Regions from separate parts of the Homo sapiens genome. Here region 2 is linked to region 1. The links are contacts of gene promoters, found by promoter capture Hi-C in human tissues and cell types (Jung and others, 2019). All regions are on one chromosome and are shown on one strand. Each heading gives the region's core, a stretch centred on a gene start or on the middle of the fragment in contact. The rest is flanking DNA. Distances are from core to core; before and after follow the strand shown.

Evidence for each region. Contacts are between HindIII fragments. The study calls those that stand out against the background at their distance.
Region 2: the fragment with the promoter of SERPINH1 here is called in contact with the fragment with the promoter of KLHL35 in region 1 in 2 of the 25 tissues and cell types used here (IMR-90 fibroblasts and small bowel).

Annotation. Positions count from the first base shown.
Region 1 is chr11:75,429,921-75,435,624 of GRCh38, reverse strand. KLHL35 (kelch like family member 35) reads left to right here and starts at 2,422. Exons shown (of 7, transcript NM_001039548.3): 1 at 2,422-2,582; 2 at 4,995-5,704. The coding sequence starts at 4,996. It overlaps GDPD5 (glycerophosphodiester phosphodiesterase domain containing 5), which reads left to right. Exons shown (of 17, transcript NM_030792.8): 17 at 1-985. The coding sequence ends at 118. RefSeq lists an enhancer at 2,898-3,784 and silencers at 5,073-5,312, 5,393-5,442. The HindIII fragment of the contact is 12,939 bases long and covers 1-5,704 here.
Region 2 is chr11:75,557,799-75,563,502 of GRCh38, reverse strand. SERPINH1 (serpin family H member 1) reads right to left here and starts at 1,250. Exons shown (of 5, transcript NM_001235.5): 1 at 1,184-1,250. RefSeq lists enhancers at 1-489, 490-1,030, 1,031-1,570, 4,152-4,693, silencers at 1,195-1,244, 1,255-1,514 and cis regulatory regions at 3,706-4,556, 5,029-5,259. The HindIII fragment of the contact is 16,066 bases long and covers 1-2,855 here.

The DNA.
Region 1 (5,704 bases), core at 1,173-3,672:
GCTCTCCGTATGTTCAGACAACAGTTATGACACATATGCCAACAGCACCGCCACCCCTGTGGGCCCCCGAGGGGGTGGCAGCCACACCAAGACCCTCATAGAGCGGAGTGGGCGTTAGCTGAAGACATGTCTGTCCCACCTGTACCTGACACAGAAGCTGGGGAGCCTAGGAGAGCTGGTGGAAGTGTGTCTGAACTCGGAGTGCTCTGGGAGCGGGCTCCACAGCCTCCTTGTGGGCTCCAGCCCCTTGTCAGCCGCAGCCTCTCTTGAGGGGGACTCCCTGTCTCCTGAGGCCCAGCTGGGCCAGGACTCCATCCTTTCAGATGCCCCTGCAGGCCTGGGGCTCCTTCTGGGAAGTATGGGGCCTAGGGCTTGGTCCCCCTCTTCTGAGGCCCTCTCCTGTATCCCGACCTGGAAGCTTTGATGGGTCATGGGCCATGCCATACCCCCTGTGGCAATGGAGTGTGTGGATGCTCACCTGTGCCATCTGTCCTCCTGTCTGTGCCAGGAGGCACCTGAGTTCTCTGCTGTTATCCTGCCCCAAGGGCCTGGGCCGAGCCTCTACCTGAAGCAACTCTGCTCTTCCTGTCAGTCTCAAAGCACAAGGAGGTTCAGCCCAGGAGGAAGCCAGCTGCAATGTGGAGACACGTCCTCCTCCCCAACCCACCTCATGCCACCGCCAACCCCCTGCCCCAGGAGCGGGCCTGAGCCACGTCCTCTAGGAGCAGCTGGAGATGGCCAAAAGAGTGAGCTCAGGACTACTGGATCCCATGCCCAGGTGTCCAGCAGACCTCAAGGCAGAAGGGTCACCTAACCCAGGAGTCCACAGACTGATGTGACCTCAGGTTCCCACATCAGTGGCCACAGGGCAGGGCCCACCTGGTAGAAGTGTTCTGGATATGGCCAGGGTGGGTGTGTGGCTAAGTGGGCCTGAACAGAGGGAACCTAGGGCCCTTGGCCAATGTGATTAAAGCTGCCATCTTGATGTGTGTTGTCTCTGAATTGCCAGCAGGAGGGTGGGGACAAGTGCGCTGGGTCTAGGTTTCAGTTCTGACCCTATAATCTGAGGAGGAACCATTCTCAGGAATGAATGGGAAAGTGGCAGAATGGTGCCTCCCCTTCCCTGGGTCCGCCATGGTGCCAGTGGCTGGGAGCCGGTATCCTCATATGGTGGATGGGGAGACAGTCTTGGAGAGGTAAAGTGACCTCCAAAAGCCACACAGCTTAGAACAGGCCAAGCCAGAATCCCATCCAGACTCTGGCCCCAGCGCATATGTGTGCCTCCCATAAGCTAGGAATGACACGCAGAGGGGGAGGGCTCCTGGGTCCAATGTAGGGCTGGGAGTGGGACTGGCAGGTGCCCTCACAGCCACATGAAGGCATTCTGAACCTCCCGGCTATGTTGGGACAAGCCCTCAGCACAGGGAGGCCTCTTCCCCATGCCAGGAGTTTGGCTTTGACTTCTCCGAGCTTTGGACCTGCCTGAGGAGGGCCCATGCCCATGCCCAGGACTGGGGGCACCTGAGCTGAAAGCCAAAGTACAGCCCTGGGACCACAGGTGTCCTTTCCTTCCAGTCCTTGGGACCTCTGCTGTCTGTGGGCAGGAGTCAGTGGTGGTGTCAGAGCAGGCCTGTAACTCCCCTCTTTGTCCTGAGAGTCTGCCTGGTCATGGGTGTGACCTGAGGGAAAAGGGGGAAGCTGAGCCCCAGCTCCAGCCTGCATCAAATTAACTCCATGCTTCCTGGGAGCCAAGGGACGTGTCTCTTCCAAACAGGGATCTTCTGGATAGAATTCTTGGGGTCTAGGAGATTCTGGCACCTTATAGGTAAAAAAGAAAAGAGCCCTCTGCAAATGTTGGAAGCTCCACTGGGCCCCCACAGTAACCTCGAGGACCGGCCCTCCTGCCCCTGCTACTGAATGTCTGGCAAGTGCTCTGCTTCCTGGGGCAGAGGTCAGCTCCCGCCTCTCCCTGAGCTCAAGGGAATGAGACTCAGAGCCACTGTGCCCCCCGCCCCACATGCTTAGTCACATTGGCATCTACATGGTCACACAGCCACATGTCCACACGCAGCCCAATGCTACACAGTCACTTCATTCCATGTACTTCCACAATCACGCATAGTCACCCTGAAACCTACATGCCTACAACTGCATGATGACACCCCTCCCACACCCCAACTCCAGCACCACACACCTTCGAACCCATCGTCATTCCGGGACAAGGCCAGCACCAGGTCACCCCCAAACCCAGGCATACCAAATCCTGGAGTTCCACACACAGTCAATCCCACTCTTATGCCCCCCCTTTCTTTCCCTCCCTCCCAGGGCTAGTCCAAGAGTGGAACAAAAGCCCAGCATCCCCCTCCCTGCTCGCTTCTCCCTTCCCCTCCCTTCCCCTCCCTCCTGGCGTCCAGCCCCTTTGTCCTCCCGCAGCTGAGCCCGAGCGAACAGCAAACGGGAGTCTGGGCAGAGCAGCATGAACACTGGAGCTTGGGCTGCCAGGGGTGCGGGCGGCAGGCACAAACGGGAGTGATACCTGTGAGAGCAGCAGCTGCGGAGCACTTGGGAGAGGGTATGGCCAGGTAAGTGCCAGGTGCATGGGGCAAGGCTTAGGCTGCAGGGCTGACCCGGCTGCGTGGTGTCCGCAAGTCTGAGATGGGGAGGATGCGGAGGAGGTGCTTGGGTAATGGCTTCAAGTGGATGTGGGTGTGTAAAAGAGTGATGGTGGCATGTTCGAGTCAGCTTCTATAGGCTGGGCCCTTCAATCTGCATCATGACCCCTGGCTTGAAGTGCCTAGACTCAGCCGAGAAGGGAGGATACCCATTGAGCCCTACCTGGGAATTTTTACCTTCTGTGTTCCAACTGGGTGTCGTTTGACCCCCAGACTGGGGATCCCCAGAGTGAATGCTGGATCTGATGTCACTGTGTGTCCAGAGTGCCCAGCGCAGTAGACAGTAAAATGAAAAAGTACTGACACACTTCCTAGGAGGGGACTCTTTCTCCCCCAGGGAGCTGCTTGTGCTGTGGGGCACCTTTGCAAGAAGTCCATCCTTATGCTGATGAGACCTGCCCTCTTGAGTCTCAACTCAGAGCATGGTTGTGCTTTCTGAGCCAGTGGAGGACAGACTGGTTGCAGCGTGCTGTGATGACCGGTCTCACTTCCTTCCACCGGTCCTGGCTGCTCCTTGGGACACACCCCCACCCTGGCAAGTGTGGCATGCAAACCCTGGAGCCAGGTGGATTCAGGATCCAGTCGCTCTACTTGGGCAAAAGTAGTTAACTTTCTTGCCCACCAGGGAGCTCATCTCTCATGATGCTGACCAGGGGATCCGCTGCCCTGGATGACCAGGGCATGAAAGCCAGGCTGACACTAGGCGGGATCTGACCTCCAGAGGCAGCAGAGCAGCTGGGAGCAGGAGGATGGAAGGAGAGGCAGGGCGCAGAGGGTGGACCTGAGCCCCCTAGAGTAAGCTGATGGAAAGGAGGGAGCTCCCTGTCCCTGGAGGTGTGCAAGCAGAGGTTTTGTGTTCATAATGGCCAAATCATAACCAGCATGGCCCAGCCCCTCAGTCTGCAGAGCGCCTTCACAAACACCCCTCTGCTGAGCCTCGCCGCAAACTTCTGAAGGGCGGGTGTCCTGTGTGTGCTTGTTTCCCTTATGACAAACTAAAGGGGCAGGTGTGGGCTAAAGAAACTTCTCAGCTTGTGAGGATGAAATTAAATTATGTCTATAAAAGCAACTGGCACACACAGTGTCCTCCCTTCCTCTTGAGTAAAAGCAATATAGGGAAACACCCATGTAGCTCGTACTGTGTACTAGCACTTTTCATACAGCCCATGTAATAGTCATGAAGCCACAGCCCTGTGAGGTAGGGATGATGATCCCATTTCAGATGAGATAACTGAGGCCAGGGCGGGCAGGTGAGAGGAGTGACTTGCCCCGGCCACACCGTAAGCCTGTGGCAGGCACTGGGTTAGAATCCCCATTTGTCCCTAGAGTTCTTTCCACTTTCTGACGGTGCTACCTGGAGAACACCAAGAGAACTCACTAGAGAGAGGGCCAGCTTCCCTCAGCCTGGGCTCTAACCTTTCAGAATTCGCCCATCCTTCTCAGCTGGAAGGTTCCCCTCAGGGACGCCCTCCCTGACTCCCCTCCACCTGGGTCCAGCGGCCCTTCTATGAACTCCCCTAACACCCGGTGCCTCCCCATGGCACCCCCGCCAGGCTGGGAGCTCCGGGCACACCGTAACTATGGTTGTCTTGCTCACTGCCTGGCACAGAAAGGGCTCCCAATAAATACTTGTCGAATTCGTTTGCGCGAAAGCTGTGTGTATGATGCTGTCTGTCAGGGGAGTGCTCAGGGTGTGGTCAGTGTCCAGCACCTACCGGAGATCGGCAGGAGACAGGCTGGATTGAGCAGAGGGCGGTGGAGTTATTGTACCCTCTCTCCCCTGCACATGCACACACTGGGTCTCTGTGGGGCAGCCTGAGTCCCTTGACCCAGGGCTTCAGCTCCTGTCACGGGACCCTCCTTACACAGATATATTTCCAGGTTCCAGTAACTTCCCTGCTCTCCCGCTACAGACCCCGGGGCGGCCAAGGCGCCCTGCTGTTAGTATCCTGGGACACAGCCCTACTCCTACTGGAGTCCCTAACGCCTACTCCGCTGTTGAAAATAGTTCCTTTATTAGACCCTCCTCCGATTACCCTGTTTGAGAGCGTGCCATCTGTTACCTGCAGATATCGATAGGAAAACGCTTAGCAAGTTTGAAGAACCGAAAAGGGCACTGTGTCTGAGTGGGTAGGCAGGGCAGAATGTCGCGCTGGTGAGGCGGGGCTGGGGCACTGTAGCCGTAAGGAACCTGGATGCTGAACGGAGGGGAGAGTCGCTGAACAAATGGTCAAGAGAGGAAATAAACGGATGAGGGCTGTCGCCTCTCCCGGGCGCAGCCAGGTGGCTTCCCCGACGCTGTTTGTGTTCTCTCCCCGGCAGGATGCGGCAAGGCCATGCGCCGGAGGAGTCGGAGCCGGGCTGCGAAGCGCCGTGCGCGGGTCCGTGCCACGCGCAGCGCGTGCTGCAGGCCCTGAACGCCTACCGGCGGAGCGGCACCCTCACCGACGTGGTGCTGCGCGCCGGCGGGCGCGACTTTCCGTGCCACCGCGCGGCGCTCAGCGCGGGCAGCGCCTACTTCCGCAGCTTGTTCGCGGCCGGGCGGCCCGAGCGCGGCCCGGCCGTGGTGCCAGTGGTGCCAGTAGCTCCCGAGGCGCCAGGCACGAGCCCGGCCGGGGCGGCGGCGGCGCTGGCCGTGGTGCTCGACTACGTGTACGGAGCGGGCGTGCGGCTGCGCGCGGAGGACGAGGCGGCGGCCGTGCTGGCGCTGGCGGAGCGGCTGGGCGTGGCGGGCCTGCGCGAGGCCTGCGTGCGCTTTCTCGAGGGCCGCCTGCGCGCCGCCAACAGCCTAGCGCTGCGCCGCGTGGCCGCCGCCTTCTCGCTGGCCCCGCTGGCCGAGCGCTGCGGCCGCGTCCTGCGTCAGGCCTTCGCCGAGGTGGCGCGCCACGCCGACTTCCTGGAGCTGGCGCCTGACGAGGTGGTGGCGCTGCTGGCGGACCCCGCGCTGGGCGTGGCGCGCGAGGAGGCCGTGTTTGAAGCGGCCATGCGCTGGGTGCGCCACGACGCGCCGGCCCGCCGCGGCCAGCTGCGAC
Region 2 (5,704 bases), core at 1-2,500, 130 kb before region 1:
GCACAGAGCCCCTCCTGAGGGCTGCATGCGGTGTCCTGTTACACAGCCAGTACAAAAAAAAAATCTCTGCTGGGAGTCCCGGTGACAGAGGAGACAAAGGAGAGGACGGGAAGGGGGGATGGGTACATGAACCATCTGAAGACAGGAGGGTGTGGCCCCGGCCGGAATTCCGGAGAACCAAAGCCCCCTCATTTTCCTCAGGCCTCCATCCGGGCCGTACAGCCCAGAGGGACCAGCGGGAAACAAGGAAGAGGAGGGGCTGAGACTCTGGGCCAGTCTGGAAGTGCATTCATTCTCCTTCCTGCTCTTCAGCCACCTCAGGAATGTCTCTAAGCTGGGGGGCAGGGAACCCCAGCCTCTGGAAGTTAGACCCTGCAGTTTAAACCCTGCAGTTACTCCAAGAACCCTGTGGCAGTGGACAGAAGGAAAGACTCAAATCCTTCTAGTCAGCCCCTTAATCCCCAGAGCAGAGCAGACCCTGCTGACCCCCACTCTCTTTTTTCGGAGTGGTAGGGAGCCTCGCTGGCCAAGTCTTTCCTTTGGCTGCCATCATCTAGGCTGCAAGCTGCTGATCAGAAATTGAGCCACTGTCGCCCACTTCTACCAGAGCACACGGACCCCAGGAGTCGAGACGATTTCACCTCCTTTCCCACCACCGGAAGCTCAAATTCCCTCAGCAAGCCTGTGAGGAGGCTGGGCCACCAATCACCGCTGCCCCTGAGCCTCAACCCCAGAACGGAAGTGACCTGGAACTGCGAGGCCGGCCTATCCTCCCTACCCTTGCGGGAAGAGGCACCAGACCCATCTCCTTCCTCCTCTGTTTCTTTCCGCAGAGGCTCTGCTCTCTGCCCCCAGCCCCCTTTACACAGCACCTAGTCTCGTATCTGCCACCACCACCTTTTAGGGGTCCCTGCACTTTTTCCCAGTCCTCCGAGTGCACGGACTCCCAACCCGGCTCCGATCTCCGCCCTAGCCCTCAGCTGGCACCATCACTGGCTAGCCCTGGGCTCTCGATTCCAAACCCTCCAGCGGCCCCCAAAGTGCCGAGGACTCCAATTTGTAGGCTCTGGCTCGGCACCCAACGCTTCGCAGGGTCCCCTCGCCCCTCTTACTCCCTCGCGCACCCCCAGATTGCTCGGCGCTCCCCCGGGCCGCACGCACGCAGGCGTCTCCCGCCCCTCACCTGGGTCGGGCTGGGCTAGCGCCGGGACGTGACTCTCGCTCTCGAGCCGCGACACGATTCTACTCTTAGCCCGCTCCCCTGCTCCCGGGATCTATATATGGCAGTCCCCACCCCCTCCTGCCCGTCCCGAGAAACTTCTGGAAAGTTGGAAACGCTTCCGGAGGGCGCCCCAGCTCCGCCAAAAAAAGCCAAAGACCTCCCTCAAAACCTCCCCGGCCCCCGGCCCCTCCCTCTGCCGGCGCCTCCCGGCCCCTGGGTCCTACTGCCTCCCTCGGCGGCCCGGGCTGCGGGGCGCCGGGAGTCCCCACGGGGATCAGCGTGTCCTTCAGAGTGCGAGCTTCCTCCCACCCCCAGGCTCTCTGCATAAGCTAGCCCACTCCGAATCGCACGTCCTTTCAGGCGCCCCTTTCCCCGCAGGGGCTCTGCCCCAAGCAGAGCCATCTCCCCTTCTCCCCGCTCTCCCCCATTTTCAAGCTGAAACAATTGAGTCCTGTGCACCCCCTCCCTCTCAGGGGAGACGTTCAGGCTTCTGAAGGCAGTGCCCTTCTCCATACTTGTACATTCAAAAAACCTCAACCTCAGCGATGGCCAGAGGGAGAGGGAGCAGACCAGACCCGGTACCTGCCCGGCACCCGGAAAGTTCAAGTCGTGGAGTAATAGAGGCAGAGATGCCTGGGGAACTTCAGGTGGTCTGGCTGGGCTTGGAGGAGTGCACAGGAAGGAAAACCTGGCTCTCCACTGAGCAAGGTGCTGTGTGACCCTAAGCAGGTTACTTTCCCTTTCTGGGCCTCTGTTCCCTTGGCTGTGAAATGTGGTTCTAAGGCATCCCTTGCTTTTTTTCCCCCCTCTCTCCCTTCCTCAATCCTTGTCACCCCTGGCCCCCTCCCTATTGCATCCCCTCCCTCTTTGGGTCCCCTCCCACAGGCCTCAGGTCTCACTGTCAATTCCTACCCCACCCTCGCAAACTGATAGCTCCTTGACCTCCAAGTTAAGCTAGGGTATTCATTACTGTTCTAGGTGCTGAGGACACAGCTGAGAGCTGAACAAAGTCCTTGCCCTGTGCGATGTCCATCTGTGGGGTATGTACCTGTTAGTAGGGAATTCAGTGATTCAGTGAGGCAGATTATTTAGGAAACCCTAAATAATCTGGGCGACAGTGGCTCAATTTCTGATCAGCCGAGGCTCCCTACCCTCCGAAAAGTCCTCTTTAGTAGTTTAATGATAGCTATTGGATGGACGCAGTATGGAGAGGAAGGGACAGGGTAGGGACTCTTCATTCATTCAGTCATGAATGAATGCATTGAGTATCTTCTTTCTTCTAGGTGCTTGCCTGGATCCTGGGGAGCAAAAAAATCCCAGTACCCAGCAAATGAGTCAATCACCTGGGTCCCTGCCCTCTGTTAGTGGTTGTGGGGAAGCCTGGTGGTGGTGACAAACCTCTCTGTCTGGGTAGGCTTCTGCAGCTCAGAGTCTTTTGAGTACAAGGACTGTGGGAAATCTCAGATCCCAAAAGCTTCAGACTCTGTGATTCAGGGTCAAGGAATCAGAGATTACTTCCACTCAAAGCCCCCAAGGAGTCTTTGAATCCAGCTAAGGAATCTTAACATGTTAAAATCTCAGAGTCGAAGGATTCTGGAATAAATGTATTAAAGACTCTGAGCTGCAAGGCATCTCAGAGGTCAGGGGTTCCTGTCTGCAGCCCCAGGCAGAAGCCCTCTTCTCAGTATCCCAAAAAGGCAAGCACCGAGGCACCTCTAAGAAGAGAGAGCTTACCTCCTTCAGAGGCAGCCCCGCATTCTTTTTTAGGACAGGTCTGATTATTAACAAAAGCTTCCAGCCTTGGCATGGTGTCCATCTCTTTGGGGTGGCTGTCGTGGTTCTCATGTGCTTCCTCCTGCCTCAACTGTATATTGCTTTTAAAGATAAATTCTAGGCTGGGCGCGGTGGCTCATGCCTGTAATCCCAGCACTTTGGAAGGCCGAGGTGGGTGGATCACCTGAGGTCAGCAGTTCAAGATCAGCGTGGCCAAAATGGTGAAACCCCATCTCTAATAAAAATATGAAAATTAGCCAGCTGTGGTGTCATGTGCCTGTAATCCCAGCTACTCAGGAGGCTGAGGCGGGAGAATCTCTTGAACCTGGGAGGTGGAGTTTGCAGTGAGCCGAGATCATGCCACTGCACTCCAGCATGGGTGACAGAGCGAGACTCCATCTCAAAAAAAAAAGATAAATTCTTGTTTATCCAAGGAGACCTCCCGGGTCCCAGGCCAGACCCCACTCTCTACTCCCACCCCCACATTGGCCCTCAGGCTTCCTTGTGACTTGGTCAGTGAGCTGAGGGCAGGGCAGAGCAGAAACAAAGAGTGCCCATCAATGCTGGCAAAACAGAGAGGGTCGCCTGGGTTTTCAGCAGGTTCAGATGTCACAATCCCAGTGAGACTCCCTTCCTCTACTCTCTTACATCTCTTAGCTCTTTTAGGCTTCACCAACACCTGAGGGGGAGACTGAGAGTGCTGTGACTGTCCCATTTTGAGGGATAAACCAAAGCTCATGCTGTTAAATAGACCCAGTATCATGAGTGGTCACTGAAGAGAGGACCTGCCCTTACAGACAGCAAAGCTGAGGCCTAAGGAGGGCTGGGTCTGAAGGCCCAACCCCCATCCGACCCCCACTAATCTCACACCGGGTCAGAAGCCTCCTCTGTGACCTATCCCACTGCTGCATTATCTCTGTTATCACCCTGTATTGTCAGTGAACCATCACTGGAGACTTTGGAAGGGCAGGGCCTTTTCCTTGTCACTGTGAGTCCCCAGCTCCAGCAAGGGGACAGTATGGAAGAGGCACTGGGTAAGCATGGCTGGCCAGGGGATGAGAAGTGGCTGCCTGAGGCTGCTGTGCCCCTAGCACAGCCTCCCTGAAGAAGGGAAAGCAACGGCTCCTTTAAATTTCCAAGATCAGCAAAAAAAAAAAAAGTCAAGAGCCTTTGCCACAATATTCTTAGCTCTGAGCCCAGCCCAGACTGACTGTGGCCCTTCCCCCACATTCCAGGCAGAGCTTTCCGGAAAAAGCACTCTTTTAGGGGGTGGGGGAGAAGAGTCTGATAAGCAGAGAAACTCTCAAGCATTTTGTCTCTGGACTCCTCCAGTGCCTCGCTTCACTGAAGGAAGTGGTCCTGGTGCCTGGCACGTGGAGGCTGGCTGGAAATCCTCTAGATCCCTAGGTCCCGAGAGGTGTGGACAGCAGAAAGTAGAAAACCATCAAGTCCAACTGCATCCACACTATACAGAGAGGACAACGGAAGCCCAGAGAGGGCAGGAATTTACCCAAGGTCACACAGCATATCAGAGGTGGGGCTGGGCTGGAGCCTAAGCCCTGGACTCCCAGCCCTCTTTCTCCCACAGTACCCTCTAATGACCCAGGGGGGTATGTAGGCCCAGTTCTGCCAGGTGCTGTGGAAACAGCTTTCTTTGGCCCCAGTGGCTAGATTCACTCAGTCTTCACCCCATAGAATCCTAGGACAAAAACTTGCATGTCATTTAAGTGTGCAACACATTCACATTTATTATCATATTTATTCCTTTCAGGTAAGGAAGAATGTTCCAATTTTCAGCATGAAGAAACTGAGGATCAGGGAGACTAAGCAACAGGGTTAAGGGCACACAACAAGCCAGAGTCAGAGCTGGGTTTTGAATCAGGTCTGTTTATGCCATATCCACGGGAAGGCAGGGAGTGGACGAGAAGGAAGTGACATTTATGGGCCATTTTGCCGCTGCCAGGCCTGTGCTGGGCACCGTCATTAGTGTCTCACTTTTAATTATAGAACGTTAATCGGAAGGAAGTTTAATCCCCTTCTTTTTACATTGGTATAAAATTGGAGCCCAGAAAGCTCCGACAGCCAGTCCAGGGTCGGCCCCCTCCCTCAGGGAGCCAGGGCTGCTATAGGCAGCTCTTCTTTGAGATGCTGTCCAGGAGCCAAGAATGTGCTCTCAGCCCAAGGCATGAGTCAGGAAAACACGATTTCTGTAATCTTGGATTCTCTCTCTTGGAGCGTGGGGCCTTCCATCCAAAAAGGGCTGTCCTGCGTGCTGCCACGTTGGAGGGTGGGCAGCCGGTCCATGTGGGGGTGGGTGGGCACATGATTCCTCCCCTCCTCCTCCCAGAGCAGGCCCGCCCCTACCCGTCTGCAATCCTGGTGCTGAGCGAAGCCACATAGGAACTCCAGCGCCTTCACCCACATGCCTGGCACAATACCCAGGAGACACAAGCCCACTGACTCGCTATATACACAGGCGTATGTGCACCCACATACATGGTGCACACACGGCACTTGAGCAGCCCCTTCACACAATCCATGTACACACATGTCTGTGTAACTCCAGTAACCCAAATGCACCCCACCCCCCTACACAAGTTTTTGTTGGGTATTGACATATACACAGGATCAGGTTCCCCGCCCCCTCTCCCAGCCTCCCTCTCTCAGGCTTCCTCTGGCAACCCATGGAACCAGCTCCAGTGCCTGCAA